Linked DNA regions of Homo sapiens: regions 2 and 3 are each linked to region 1. The links are contacts of gene promoters, found by promoter capture Hi-C in blood cells and fetal thymus (Javierre and others, 2016). All regions are on one chromosome and are shown on one strand. The core of a region is centred on a gene start or on the middle of the fragment in contact, and the rest is flanking DNA. Distances in the headings are between cores, read along the strand shown. Region 1 holds the start of PRR18 (proline rich 18). Region 2 overlaps RPS6KA2 (ribosomal protein S6 kinase A2). Region 3 overlaps TBXT (T-box transcription factor T).

The links. Contacts are between HindIII fragments. The CHiCAGO score rates a contact against its expected background, and 5 or more counts as called.
Region 2: a fragment that was not itself captured here is called in contact with the fragment with the promoter of PRR18 in region 1 in 1 of 17 cell types (total CD8 T cells); the score reaches 6.2 in total CD8 T cells.
Region 3: a fragment that was not itself captured here is called in contact with the fragment with the promoter of PRR18 in region 1 in 2 of 17 cell types (neutrophils and M0 macrophages); the score reaches 6.8 in neutrophils.

What each region holds. Positions count from the first base shown.
Region 1 is chr6:166,306,335-166,310,326 of GRCh38, reverse strand. It overlaps PRR18 (proline rich 18), which reads left to right and starts at 1,935. Exons shown (of 1, transcript NM_175922.4): 1 at 1,935-3,992. The coding sequence starts at 2,185. The coding sequence ends at 3,072. LOC107986669 (a long non-coding RNA gene) reads right to left here and starts at 2,779. Exons shown (of 3, transcript XR_001744464.2): 1 at 2,604-2,779; 2 at 510-605. RefSeq lists an enhancer at 1,503-1,782 and a silencer at 1,853-2,452. The HindIII fragment of the contact is 8,012 bases long and covers 1-3,992 here.
Region 2 is chr6:166,440,002-166,444,365 of GRCh38, reverse strand. All of the region lies in intron 14 of RPS6KA2 (ribosomal protein S6 kinase A2), which reads left to right. Among named protein-coding and RNA genes, the nearest start is that of RPS6KA2-IT1, 23 kb to the left of the region's middle. The HindIII fragment of the contact is 188 bases long and covers 1,359-1,546 here.
Region 3 is chr6:166,154,834-166,158,870 of GRCh38, reverse strand. It overlaps TBXT (T-box transcription factor T), which reads left to right. Exons shown (of 8, transcript NM_001366285.2): 8 at 283-1,215. The coding sequence ends at 556. Among named protein-coding and RNA genes, the nearest start is that of TBXT, 11 kb to the left of the region's middle. The HindIII fragment of the contact is 6,113 bases long and covers 1-4,037 here.

The DNA.
Region 1 (3,992 bases), core at 686-3,185:
CTTGGCTTAAAAAGGCCCAAATCGCTACTAGTTTGTGGGTGAGAGGTCACTTAATCCAATCACCCTGATCTACCAAGACTTTTTCCCTCTCAGCTTTAGTGTAAAAGTTGCAATCTGGCCTTGGACTCGCACTCCTGGGGTGGAGTCTTATCTCCTCCGTCCCGTTAGAGCTGTGTGATGGCAGTTGCGTAGCTACCTCGCCTCTGTACGACCAGTGTCCCAGCAGAATGGAGACAGCAGTGGAAGTCGGGAGCATTACTATGAGGCCACCAACCCATTCTCACCCCAAAACTGTCATTCCTTCTGAAGCATCCTAAGAGTAAGGAGACAGGAAGGAGAGAAGACCCCACCAGCACCGTCACAGCTTTTGAACTGCGGGGCTCCAAACTCAGATGTCTGAGTGTCCAAGTGTTTGCTGATTTTTCTCCATAGCCTGCCTCTCCAGCTGTGCCCCCATAAATGATATTTGATACCGCCCCCCGCCCCACCCCCATCCTCTCCTGCCTCACCTTCTCTTCCAGTTCTCCACTTTCCAGGCACAGAACTGTGGGCCTCCTGCCGCCACTGACGTGCCTCTTCCCACACCCATCCAGAGATTCTAAAACCTGGAATAAAACATATTGAGGAGGAGGTTTCAGTATCTTAGGACCTCACCTGTCAAGCCGATTAACAGCCTGAGCCCACCGGCAGAGACAGGCTGGCAGGGATGGAGGGAAAGTGCCTGTGAGCTGGGAGGCTTGTTTCAGAGCTGTATTGGGGTGGCTTGGGAGGTGCTGGTAGAGATGACAGGGCCCAAACCTGTCACCCCAACCCAAGCTCTGGTGAGAAGTGTTTCCCACCACCTGCCAGGTTTCCTTGACGCTCCCATGTATCCACAGCGCAGTTCTCTGAGGCCACCAACAGTCAACAAGGGGAGGCGTTGCTGCTGCCTCGGAGACTGAGGCGGCTGGGGGAGGGCCATGCTGTCCTGCTGTGACTGTTGGCACAGGGCACATTTGTGTTTACCCACAGTTGAATGTGCTCTGGAGCTAACCTGGGGCCGTAACCATCACACACCTGGTTTCCATCAGAAAAGTGTATCTGATGGAAAGTACTTTGTGGAGATCTAAGCAGCTGATGATTATCCTTAAGTAATGCAGGGACTGCACACATGAAATGTTGACTTTTTGATCCGTCACTTTGCAATTGTTCAATTATTTATTAAACAAACATTTGAATATTGTAGGATGTCTTCATGTGTCTACGACTAGAATGTAAATTGACAGTGAAGATTTATCTCATTAATTCTGAATCTCTGCTACAGTGATAAATATATTGCTTTGCTCATAAGAATTATTAAAGGGACTTGATGTCTAATATTTGCCATGTAATCAGCATTATATAGCTGAAACTGAACTATTTTGCCTGTTCATAGATACTTAGGTTTTGAATTTGAAAGTGACTCCTCAAGGGGTGGCATGAACACTATGTAAGATTCACTGAGGGTCATTTCTCCCCTCTCAGCTCCAGCCCGCTTTTCTCTGTGAAGCAGGATGTGTCCGGGGCCGCAGAGCTGCATCTACTGGCGGTGCCTTTCCCGCCGTCTCGAAGGCACGGAGAGGCTACAGGGGATTTTCTCTGAAACGTGCAGGGCCTCCACCTGTGACTCCGGAAGGCTGCCGGCTCCCCCAGGGGAATGCTCCTGGCTTTCGACGGACTACATTAACCTCGGACCACCGGAGCGCCAGCTGGGGGAGCCCCGGGATGCCTGGCGCGCGCTCCGCCCTCCGCTGTCCTGGCACTTTGCTCCCATTCAACAGTCGGTCGTGACACCAGCCGGGCACAGCCCGGGGCCTGGCAGGGCCGCGTCCTTAGCGAGCGCGCTGGGCTCCTCCTCCTGCCGGCCCGGCCCGCGTCTCAGCTGTGGGGACCCGGGGGCGCCGCGACTCGCCCACAGTCGGACGGCGGGAGGCGGTTCCTGCAGGGTCCAGTCCCGGGAGCACCCCCAGGAGGAGGGGAGGGTGGGAGCGCCTCTCTTTGAGTCCCCGGGTTTGGTCGCTGGGATGTGAGGAAGCCGGAGAGGCCGCGGCTGGACGCAGGTGGGTGTGGAGGGGCCGCCCGGACTGCGGGGACCCGCTCCGCGCACAGTGGCTGAGCGCCCGCCTCTCTTTCCAGGGGCTGAGGATCCGGCGGCTCGGCTGCACTATGCCCTTCCCGCCCATGCCGCCGCCGCCCGCCCCCGCCCCGGGGGCCCAAGCCGCGCGCCAGTTACCCCGGAGGCCCTGCGCCGCGGGGGACAAGAAGAAGAGGCCCCCACAGCGGCCCGAGGGGCTCCTCTCCAGCTCCTGGCCCTCCGCCACGCTCAAGAGGCCGCCGGCCCGGCGCGGCCCCGGCCTGGACAGGACGCAGCCGCCGGCCCCTCCGGGCGTCTCCCCCCAGGCCTTGCCCAGCCGCGCGCGGGCCCCAGCCACGTGCGCCCCGCCCCGGCCGGCAGGCTCCGGCCACAGCCCAGCGAGGACCACCTATGCGGCGACCTCGGCGGGGACGGGGACCACCGCCGCGGGCACCTCCTCGGGGGCGGGGCCTTGTCCAGACTCCGCTGCGCGCTTCTGCCTGAATCTCACCCCCGAGGCCGTCCTGGTCATCCAGAAGCGTCATCTGGAGAAGCAGCTGCTGGCGCGGCCCCGCAGGCCCTTCCCCTCACCCTCGGCCGAACCCAGGCGCCTACTCGCCCCGTGTCTCCCGGCTAGGGCCGCGGGCCCGCGGAGGGGCGGCCCCGCCAGCGACCCCGACGCACCCCCCACCGCCGGCCAGGGCCGCCGCGCGCCTCCGCCCGGCGCCCAGCTGCTGCACGGCGGCCTGCAGGTTCCCCAGCTCAGCCCGCGGCCCGGGGCCCTGCGGCCGATGCTCAAGGTGTCGCTGCTCAACGAGCGGCACAGGTACGACGACGTGGAGTACGAGGAGGAGCCAGAGGCGGTGGACGAGGGCCTGGTACGCAAGTGCACGGAGTGGCTGCGCGGCGTGGAGTCCGCGGCTGCCGCGCGGGGCCGGGCGGGGGCCCTGGACTCACGGCGGCACCTGAGCACGCTGTGAGCCCAGCGGGCCTGCGGGGACAGGCCAGGCCTGATCCCACCTCACTTCCTGCACGCGCCACTCCGCCTAGGGGCCCTCGGGGGAGACCGCAGGCTCCTCTGGCCGCCAGCGCCCACTTTCGGGACACCAGTGCGCAAGCTGGCCCACGTGGGGCGCAGCCAGACTCGCCCGACGGCCACGGCCCCCCTCCTGCCCTCGCCAGCCGGCAGCCCGGGCCTTTCTCGTTCACACCGGTGGTATCTACCCCAGATGCCTGCCTCTGCCCCCACTCTGGCCTCCTCTTGGCATCGCCGAGCATCCATGCAGTTCGTGGGGAATTAAGCAACTGAGAAAATGCCTCTTGGTGCCCCGACCCCCAGGGTTCGTCTAGGTCCCAGAGACCCTCTGCCTGGAGGCGGGCCTTCCCCAGGGCTACATCTGCACGCCCCGTGGTGTCACCCTCAGCCGGCGCCGGGCACCCTGGACAGTGCGGTGGGCGATGGCCCAGGTGGGTGGCCGCGACGGTGGCCTCCTGCAGAGCTGGGACCCGGTCCTACATTCGTGATTTTGTTTTCTCCCAAGTCAGAAAAATGTTGAGGGTATTAGACATCCCTGAAACTCAGTTAACCGAATTTCCAGTCTCCAAAGCGGAAGGGTAGGCATCGCCAGGCGCTGGTGAGCCCTGGTCAATGAGCGCTTCCATGGAAACCGCTCGGCTGATTACATTTTTTCTGTGTATTATTTGAATAGAGAGTAAAGCTCCTCCGCTGTTTCGTAACCATATCCTTTCCCCCGCTAACTGGAGGCTGATTTCTACATATTTCTTCCATGTATCTGAGAATATCTAACTAGAAGGATGAGAAGGAAATAAAATGTTATAATCAGATAAGGCTGGTTATAAAAGAGTAATGTATTACCTCAATTTTTGACTGACTTTGTAA
Region 2 (4,364 bases), core at 203-2,702, 130 kb before region 1:
TGAAGTTGTATAGGGCTTCAAAATAGCATGACGGATGGCTGCATTGCTGTCCGCACATTAGGGCACCCTTCATTTAAAATAAGATTAAAATAGAAGTGACTATTAAGTGTTGGAGGTAATCGTGATCCAGGAGGATTAAAAGGAAGGGGAGAGGTGTATTTGAAAGAAAAAATAATATTCCTATTCCATCAAAGATGCTGTATTCACTTTATAAGAATTGAGAGAGGGAATTATTTGTTTTTATTTTATTCTTAGGACTTTGTTGCTTAACATAATTAGGTACATATTCTAGATAGTGCTGATTTGTATAAATGGAAGGATTCCTGGCATTATATTGGTGGGGGAATATGTAAATATATACAGTTGGCCCTTGAACAACACGGGGTTGAATTGTGAGGATCCACGTATGCAGATTTTTTTCAGTAAATATACTGGAAAATTTTTTAGAGATTTGTTACAATTTGAAGAAACTCACAGACAAACCACATAGCCTAGAAATATTTAAAAAGTTAAGAAAATGGTATGTCAGGATGCATAAAATATACATAGATGCTAGTCTATTTTATCATTTTCTACTATAAAATATACACAGATTTATTATACAAACTTAAAATGTATCAAAATTTATGTGCTCAAGCATAGACCATACGTGGCGCCATTTGCAGTTGAGATAAATGTAAACAAACATAGATTCAGCATTAAATCATAGCTGCAGCAAATTAACTGTGGCGAATATGGCACTACCGTAAGAATTTCACAGCAGCCTTCCATTGCTGCTGTAGTAAGCTCAGGTGTTGGAAGGATCCGCTTTAAACGTCCTGTGACACTCCTCGTCTCCATGTGAGGAGTCTGTCTCTCCAGGGAATTGGGAATAGCAGTAAAAAATGGTATCTTGTGGTTCTCACATATTTTTCACCGTGTTTAGTGCAGTTCCATAAACCTTGAATAACACCATAGAACCACTAAGAAGTCCCGTGCCACTAGGGACGCTGTGAGTGCTCCCAAGAGGCAGAGAAAAGTCATCACATGACCAAAAAAAACAAAAGTTGAATTGCATGATACGTACCCCAGGTTGAGGTCTGCAGCTGTGAGTGCCCCCCTTTTCAGACAGACGATCCATCTTGTGAACAGATGGCATAAACTCACTATATCCATAAATACAGTCCCATACACTAAATGTATTTTCTCTTCCTTATGATTTGCTTAGTAACATTTTCTTTCCTCTAGATCGTATTATTACAGAATTATATACTGTATTCTTAATACAGTATATAATTGTATAATTATTCTTAATACAGTATATAATTATACAAATACAAAATATGTGTTAATGGACCGTTTATGTTACTGGTAAAGCTTTAAGTCAACAGTGGGACATTAGTTAGGTTTTGGCGAAGTCAAAAGTTATATGTGCATTTTCAACTTCTTGAGGGGTCGGTACCTCTAACCCCCATGTTGTTCAAGGGTCAACTGTCTACACATATCATAGCTAATTCACTACAGAAATGTTAGCTTGTGTCACTAGTATCTCCCCTTCTCATAAGCTTAATACACATACCTTGAGAGAGCTCTTGGCCATCTCTACTAATGACTGAAGTTTTTATTTATTATAGATGTCATAATAGGCATAAAACTACATTACATCATTCGAGTGCCAATTTTGCCACCTTGACCCTCTTTTGCAAAACACCAACGTCAGTACACATATGAAGAGGAAACTGCCCGAGAACTGAAGTTCCTGAGACCAGGAGCTGCAGGCGTTAGATAGAATATGGTGACGAGAGTTACGAGGATGACGAGAGTAAATACTTCATACTCAGTACGTGCCAAGCACTGCTATAAGCGCTCTGTATGTGTGAAGTCATTTAATCCTCACAGCATCCCACGGTGTAATTATTTTCATTATCCCCATGAGGGAACAGAAACTCAGAACGGTTCAACACATATGCGAGAAGTCGCAGCCGGTCAGTGAGAGAGCAGGTTCCCGTCCAAGCAGTCAGACCCCGAGTGCACACTCTCGACCCCTGTCCAGCAGACTCACTCGTCATAAGGCGGGGAGCCCCAGTGTTCTGTTTCAGCCAGATGCTCTATGCATCTCAGAGTACCCAAACCATGAAAGAATGAGGCAGTATTCAGAGCAGATGGGGCTGGGCAGTAAGGCTGGGCTTCAGAATAGCTGGAAAGCTCAAGTCATGGGACCTGCAAGAAAAATCCATTGTTTGATAAATAGCCAAAGTCCCTAGGCTGTAAGGGGAAGGTGTGCCAGGTGCAAGTGGAGCTCTATGTAAAATCGCACCTGAGTCTCCTGGTCTTATGAGTCTGGGTGTACCCCAGTGAAAGGTCCTGCTGCCACCAAGTGGGCCATGGTTCAGCTGTGTAAGTGCTGAGCGGCAGCCGGACCGCTTCCTCTAACTTCACCTCCAAAGGCACAGTGCACCTGGTTCCTCCAGCACTCAGCTGCGAGGCCCCTAGCCAGGGTCCCGGCCCCCGGCCCCCGGCAGCTGCTCCAGCTTCCTTCCCCACAGCATTCAGGATGGTCTGCGTTCATGTAGACCTCTGTTTTCAGTCTGTGCTCCGAGGTCACTGGCAGCACTAGCCCCGGCTCCTGTGGATCACAGCCTGCTCGTCCTCAGGGCAGCACCTGGGCTTGTTGCAGAAGCTACATCTTGAAAGAGCCCATGGCCTAACGCTGGGCGCTGCAGTGAGCCGCACGGGGCCGGAGAAGGAGAGGACTCAGGGGAGCTTGTGTTCAAGTTCACTCCAGAGGATCCAGTGCCAGGTCCTGCAAAGAATTCTAAGCCATTGAGAAAGCAGTGGATGGTTTCACCATGGGGCTTCCCAGTATCACGTGGGGTGTTAGCTGCACCCGTCTTGGGGAACAGAGGTGGCTGTGCAGCTGAGTCAAACCACTGTGGCCAAACCTGGGAAGAGAGAGGTCCAGGCCAGTCCTGTCTTTAGGGATCAAAATGCATTTTTCATAGAAATCATGTGAAAATTTGAAGCAAAGAGAAACAGCAGTTGAGAGTTGAGCTATGTGAAGGAGCAACATGAACCATCTCAAGAACAGCAGTGGTGCAGAGACAGGCAGAGGCTGTAGATGCCTTCACAGCCACAGTGGAAACAGAGAAAGGAGCGTTCACAGGCACAGAGGCCGGGACTAGGAGCAGTTAAATAAAATAGAAAATAGAAAAGAAAGAAAGCAACATTTAGATGGACAAGGAAGGAGACGGGGCAGCTTTGGTAACAGATTGCATGACTGAGGAAAACGGTGGCATAAATTTCTCTTCCACCAGAAGAGAGAGACTCGAAGACGGGAAAATGACTGTATCGCCTGCCAGAATAGATGCTCTGTCCAGCCTGTGTCTCTGCACAGGCATTCTCTAATCAAAGAAGCTCCTCAGTGGAATTGGTTGGGCATTTGTATCTCCTCGAAACACACACTGGGAAGCTGCCTTTCTGGATGATTTAACCCTTTGCCCGTTTTCCCCAAGAATACTCACCGGCGGCACTTGCGGCTGCAGCGTTTGCCCCGAGATAACTTTGCCGCGAAATATCTCACTTTTATTATTATTTTTGCACCGCTCTAGTATACCAACTTTGGAAACAAAGGACATCATTCTATCGATAGCATTCTGTTTTTAGTAGTGGCATTTCCATTTACAAAATATAGTCATAATCGATTGCTGATAATGTCAAATCCTAGAAAACGTAGCATTCCTACATGGGATGTTAACTTCGTTCTCAAACAGTTGTTGGCCAAAGATTCATTTGATGAATCCAATTTTTCCAAAATAGACAATTCTGATGATTCAGATGATTCTGATATTAGTTCTGTTTAGAAATAACTCCAGTAACAGTTTTTAAATTTTATTTTCACATGGAAAATCAGATTTGTTTCAGCCTTAATGAACATGTTTATGTAAAATCAAATGAGCGCTGGCAGCGAGCTGCACTTTTGCTTTTTCGAAACGAGAAAGGCTTAATGTGATTGGCTTATGGTTTTGTTTCTCGTATGCTCAGCCCCTCCCAGCAGGCATGCGGCGGAGGACGGTCATCAGCAATAAGATGTAGCATGTGCCTTCTGCCCACTACCGGGTCCCCGAGCCCATCTCACAGGCTCCCACCCACCAGCCAAAACTTGGCTCTCAACTCTCCCACTGCAAACCTCTCCCCGGTCTTTCAACACAGGCTAGTTTCCTATTGTTTAGGAATGCAACACATTACCCCACATCTAGTGGCTTAAAACAACCTGAGCTTATTGTCTTCCAGCTCTGGATGTCAGAATTCTGAAATCTGTCTCACTGGGCTAAAGTCCAGTGTCCCCAAGGCTGGTTCCTTCCGCGGGCTCTGGGGGCTGAGAGTGG
Region 3 (4,037 bases), core at 900-3,399, 150 kb after region 1:
GAAACTTAACAGCGCTCTTTCATGAGCTCTGAATATGTGAATAATCTTTTCAGTCATCTTCCTGATGATTTTGTTTCTTATTAATAGATACGACAATAACTTCTATACATCACAGAATGTGCTTGTGAGTCCTTTAATAATTTGGAGAAAATGACCTGTTTGAAAGAAGAAAACTGTCATATTACACAGTCACTCCGAATGGGATTTCTGGTGTGTTTTTCCATCCTTAGCTGGCCTGCAGCCCCTGCCCAGGCCCTGCTCACTGGTGTCTTTCTGTTGCAGTCAGTACCCCAGCCTGTGGTCTGTGAGCAACGGCGCCGTCACCCCGGGCTCCCAGGCAGCAGCCGTGTCCAACGGGCTGGGGGCCCAGTTCTTCCGGGGCTCCCCCGCGCACTACACACCCCTCACCCATCCGGTCTCGGCGCCCTCTTCCTCGGGATCCCCACTGTACGAAGGGGCGGCCGCGGCCACAGACATCGTGGACAGCCAGTACGACGCCGCAGCCCAAGGCCGCCTCATAGCCTCATGGACACCTGTGTCGCCACCTTCCATGTGAAGCAGCAAGGCCCAGGTCCCGAAAGATGCAGTGACTTTTTGTCGTGGCAGCCAGTGGTGACTGGATTGACCTACTAGGTACCCAGTGGCAGTCTCAGGTTAAGAAGGAAATGCAGCCTCAGTAACTTCCTTTTCAAAGCAGTGGAGGAGCACACGGCACCTTTCCCCAGAGCCCCAGCATCCCTTGCTCACACCTGCAGTAGCGGTGCTGTCCCAGGTGGCTTACAGATGAACCCAACTGTGGAGATGATGCAGTTGGCCCAACCTCACTGACGGTGAAAAAATGTTTGCCAGGGTCCAGAAACTTTTTTTGGTTTATTTCTCATACAGTGTATTGGCAACTTTGGCACACCAGAATTTGTAAACTCCACCAGTCCTACTTTAGTGAGATAAAAAGCACACTCTTAATCTTCTTCCTTGTTGCTTTCAAGTAGTTAGAGTTGAGCTGTTAAGGACAGAATAAAATCATAGTTGAGGACAGCAGGTTTTAGTTGAATTGAAAATTTGACTGCTCTGCCCCCTAGAATGTGTGTATTTTAAGCATATGTAGCTAATCTCTTGTGTTGTTAAACTATAACTGTTTCATATTTTTCTTTTGACAAAGTAGCCAAAGACAATCAGCAGAAAGCATTTTCTGCAAAATAAACGCAATATGCAAAATGTGATTCGTCCAGTTATTAGTGAAGCCCCTCCTTTTGTGAGTATTTACTGTTTATTGTAGCTGGTGGTAAAGACCTTATCCCCAAAAAGCATTTTAATCTATTAAGAACTTTAATATTGTATCTAATTAGTTGCAAAACTGGAAGTGAAATTTGCATAGACTTAGTGCTAATTGCCACAGCAACTTAAAAGATGTTAAGTAATTTTTAAGAGATTTACTCAACATTGAATCATGGATGATGTGGATAAAGACAGAACCTAGAACATACTGATGTCATCAAGATGAATATGGGCTGTCCACCCTATTCAAGCTAAAGTACTGTACATAAAATAAATGGATAAAAAGTTATCATTTGTCAATGAAAAGTGTGGTTACCGTAGCACTTTGAACAAAATGGCATTTATAAATATCTTTCCCGCTGCTTTTTCTCAAAAGCAAAACACAACTGCAATGGCGCTGGATTGGGACAATTTCTCCATCTAGTGGCAGAATCCTTAATGTTGACCCTACTTCCAGCTTAGTATTCCAAACCTTGTATTCCTTAGTATTCCAAGTACACCTTAGTATTCCTTAGTATTCGAAGTTACAGGTGGCCAGTAGGTTAGAGCTGGGTTAGTAATGCAGGAGTGTCAAAGCGGCATTATGAATATACTAGCAACATGGACATTAAGGCTCAGGGGTATGATATCGCCCACAGGCGTAGCAAAAGTTGTTTTTTCCAAGTCAGCGTTGCTAACTTTACCACTTGTCCAACTCTGACTTCTTTGGACTCCACTTACCAGTTCTAGGACAAAGTGGTGTTTAGTTTGTTTGTTTTTGCTTTATTGAGTATAAATCCAGAGATGACGTGTAAATAGCTAGCTTTTTAGCATCATTTGTGCCTGCTTTCCAAGCAGGACATGCTTATCGTAAATTATCATTTAAAAGTTTTTCTTGGTTTTACGACTACTCATTTGGCAATACCCCCAAATCAGGAGATTGATTGAAGTATTTTGGGAGAATACATTGATTAAACCCACTGTCCAGGTAGTGTTGGGAAGTAGAACTAGTTCCAGACATCTGGACTGTGGCTTCTAATTGCATAGGTGCTGGTTCTGCTGGAGGAGGTCTGGGGGACATTTGGGAAGGGGTTAAGGGCAGGCAGTGCCACCCTGTGATCCCAGTGTCCGGTGATCCCCTCTGCACAGTCCACCACCTCACTGAACCCTTGTCCATCTCCACAACCCTGACTGCCTGGGTTTTGTATTTTCAGGGTCTGTTCCAGTGCTGGCCCCTTTGCGGGCATCAGTAACACTAATAGTGTGGGAATAAGAGGAAAACGTTGTCGACTGAGCTTGGGCAGCTGAAGCGTACAACTGGGGAACGTGGCCCCACTGTGGGGGCTGTGGGGAGACTGAGTCACATGCCCCTCCCCTGGGACCTTAAGCTCTGAGGTTGGGGGGAAGACCATTTTCACATGTGGAAGATAGATGACGACTTGAGAGTTTGAGTTTCTAAAGGTGTCCCAGAGTTCAAATTCTAGGAATTAACATTTTAATAATTCAAACATGGTCTTTCTGGTTATGCAATGTGGGCAGTGGCAGCTGTATACTGGAAAGAGCCTGGAATTTGGTATAAAAGGCCTGGATTTTGGTGTTCATTTGGCTGACTTGCTGTGAGACCCTAGGAAAGTTATCTACTCCCAAACTTCAATTTTCTGAACTGTAAAAATGGAGGAAGAAAATGCTTAACCATCAGGGTGGTTATAAGAAATAAAAGAAATAATTGCCCAGCGCGGTGGCTCATGCCTGTAATCCTAGCACTTTGGGAGGCCAAGGCAGGCAGATCACCTGAGGTTGGGAGTTTGAGACCAGTCTGACCAACATGGAGAAAACTGTCTGTACTAAAAATGCAAACTTAGCTGGGTGTGGTGGCGCATGCCTGTAACCCCAGCTACTTGGGAGGCTGAGGCAGGAGAATCGCTTGAACCTGGGAGGCGGAGGTTGTGGTGAGCCAAGAACGCGCCATTGCACTCCAGCCTGGGCAACAAGAGCAAAAACTCCGTCTCAAAAAAAAGAAAAAAAAAAAAGATATAATCTTAGAGAGTTAGACATCGCAGTTAAGATTCTGAGCCCATAAGACTCCTTGTAAACCCAGCTCTGTTTATGAAGCCCTTATAACAAATAACAAGACGCTGCTGCACATGAGAAACTCATGTCAAGCTCTCAGGCCACCTGCCGCAATTTGGAAGGCACATTTCTCATGTCTGTTGGGAAATTCCTCTGAATTATCCTAACATTCAGGTGAGTGCTGACCAAAAAATATTTAGTTCACTCTTGAACATGGAATTCTACAATCTGAGCACCCTGTCTTTGGGGTTTCAGTGGAATTGACCAATATGTAAGGTGGGAGTGATCTTTAAACCTGCAACTGTTTTAATATCTGTGACCTGATCCTATTTTTTATTTTTGTATTGTTTTTGTGACCGGGTCTCGCTCTGTTCCCAAGGCTGGAGTGCAGTGGCCTGATCATAGCTCACTGCATCCGAGAGCTCCTGGGTTCAAGCAATCCTCCCACCTCAGCTTTCCAAGTAGCTGGGACTATGGGTGCACACCACCATATCCGGTTAATTTTTTTTTTTTATTTTTTTGTAGACATGGGGCCTCACCATGTTGCTCAGGCTGGTCTCGAACTCCTACGCTCAAGTTATCCTACCACCTTGGACTTCCAAAGTGCTTGGGATTATAGGTGTGAGCCACTGATCCTAGCCTCTGATCCTCTTATTATATGTATTTTCCTCTGAGAAGAGATAGTAGTGATATATAGGAATTATGCTTTCTAG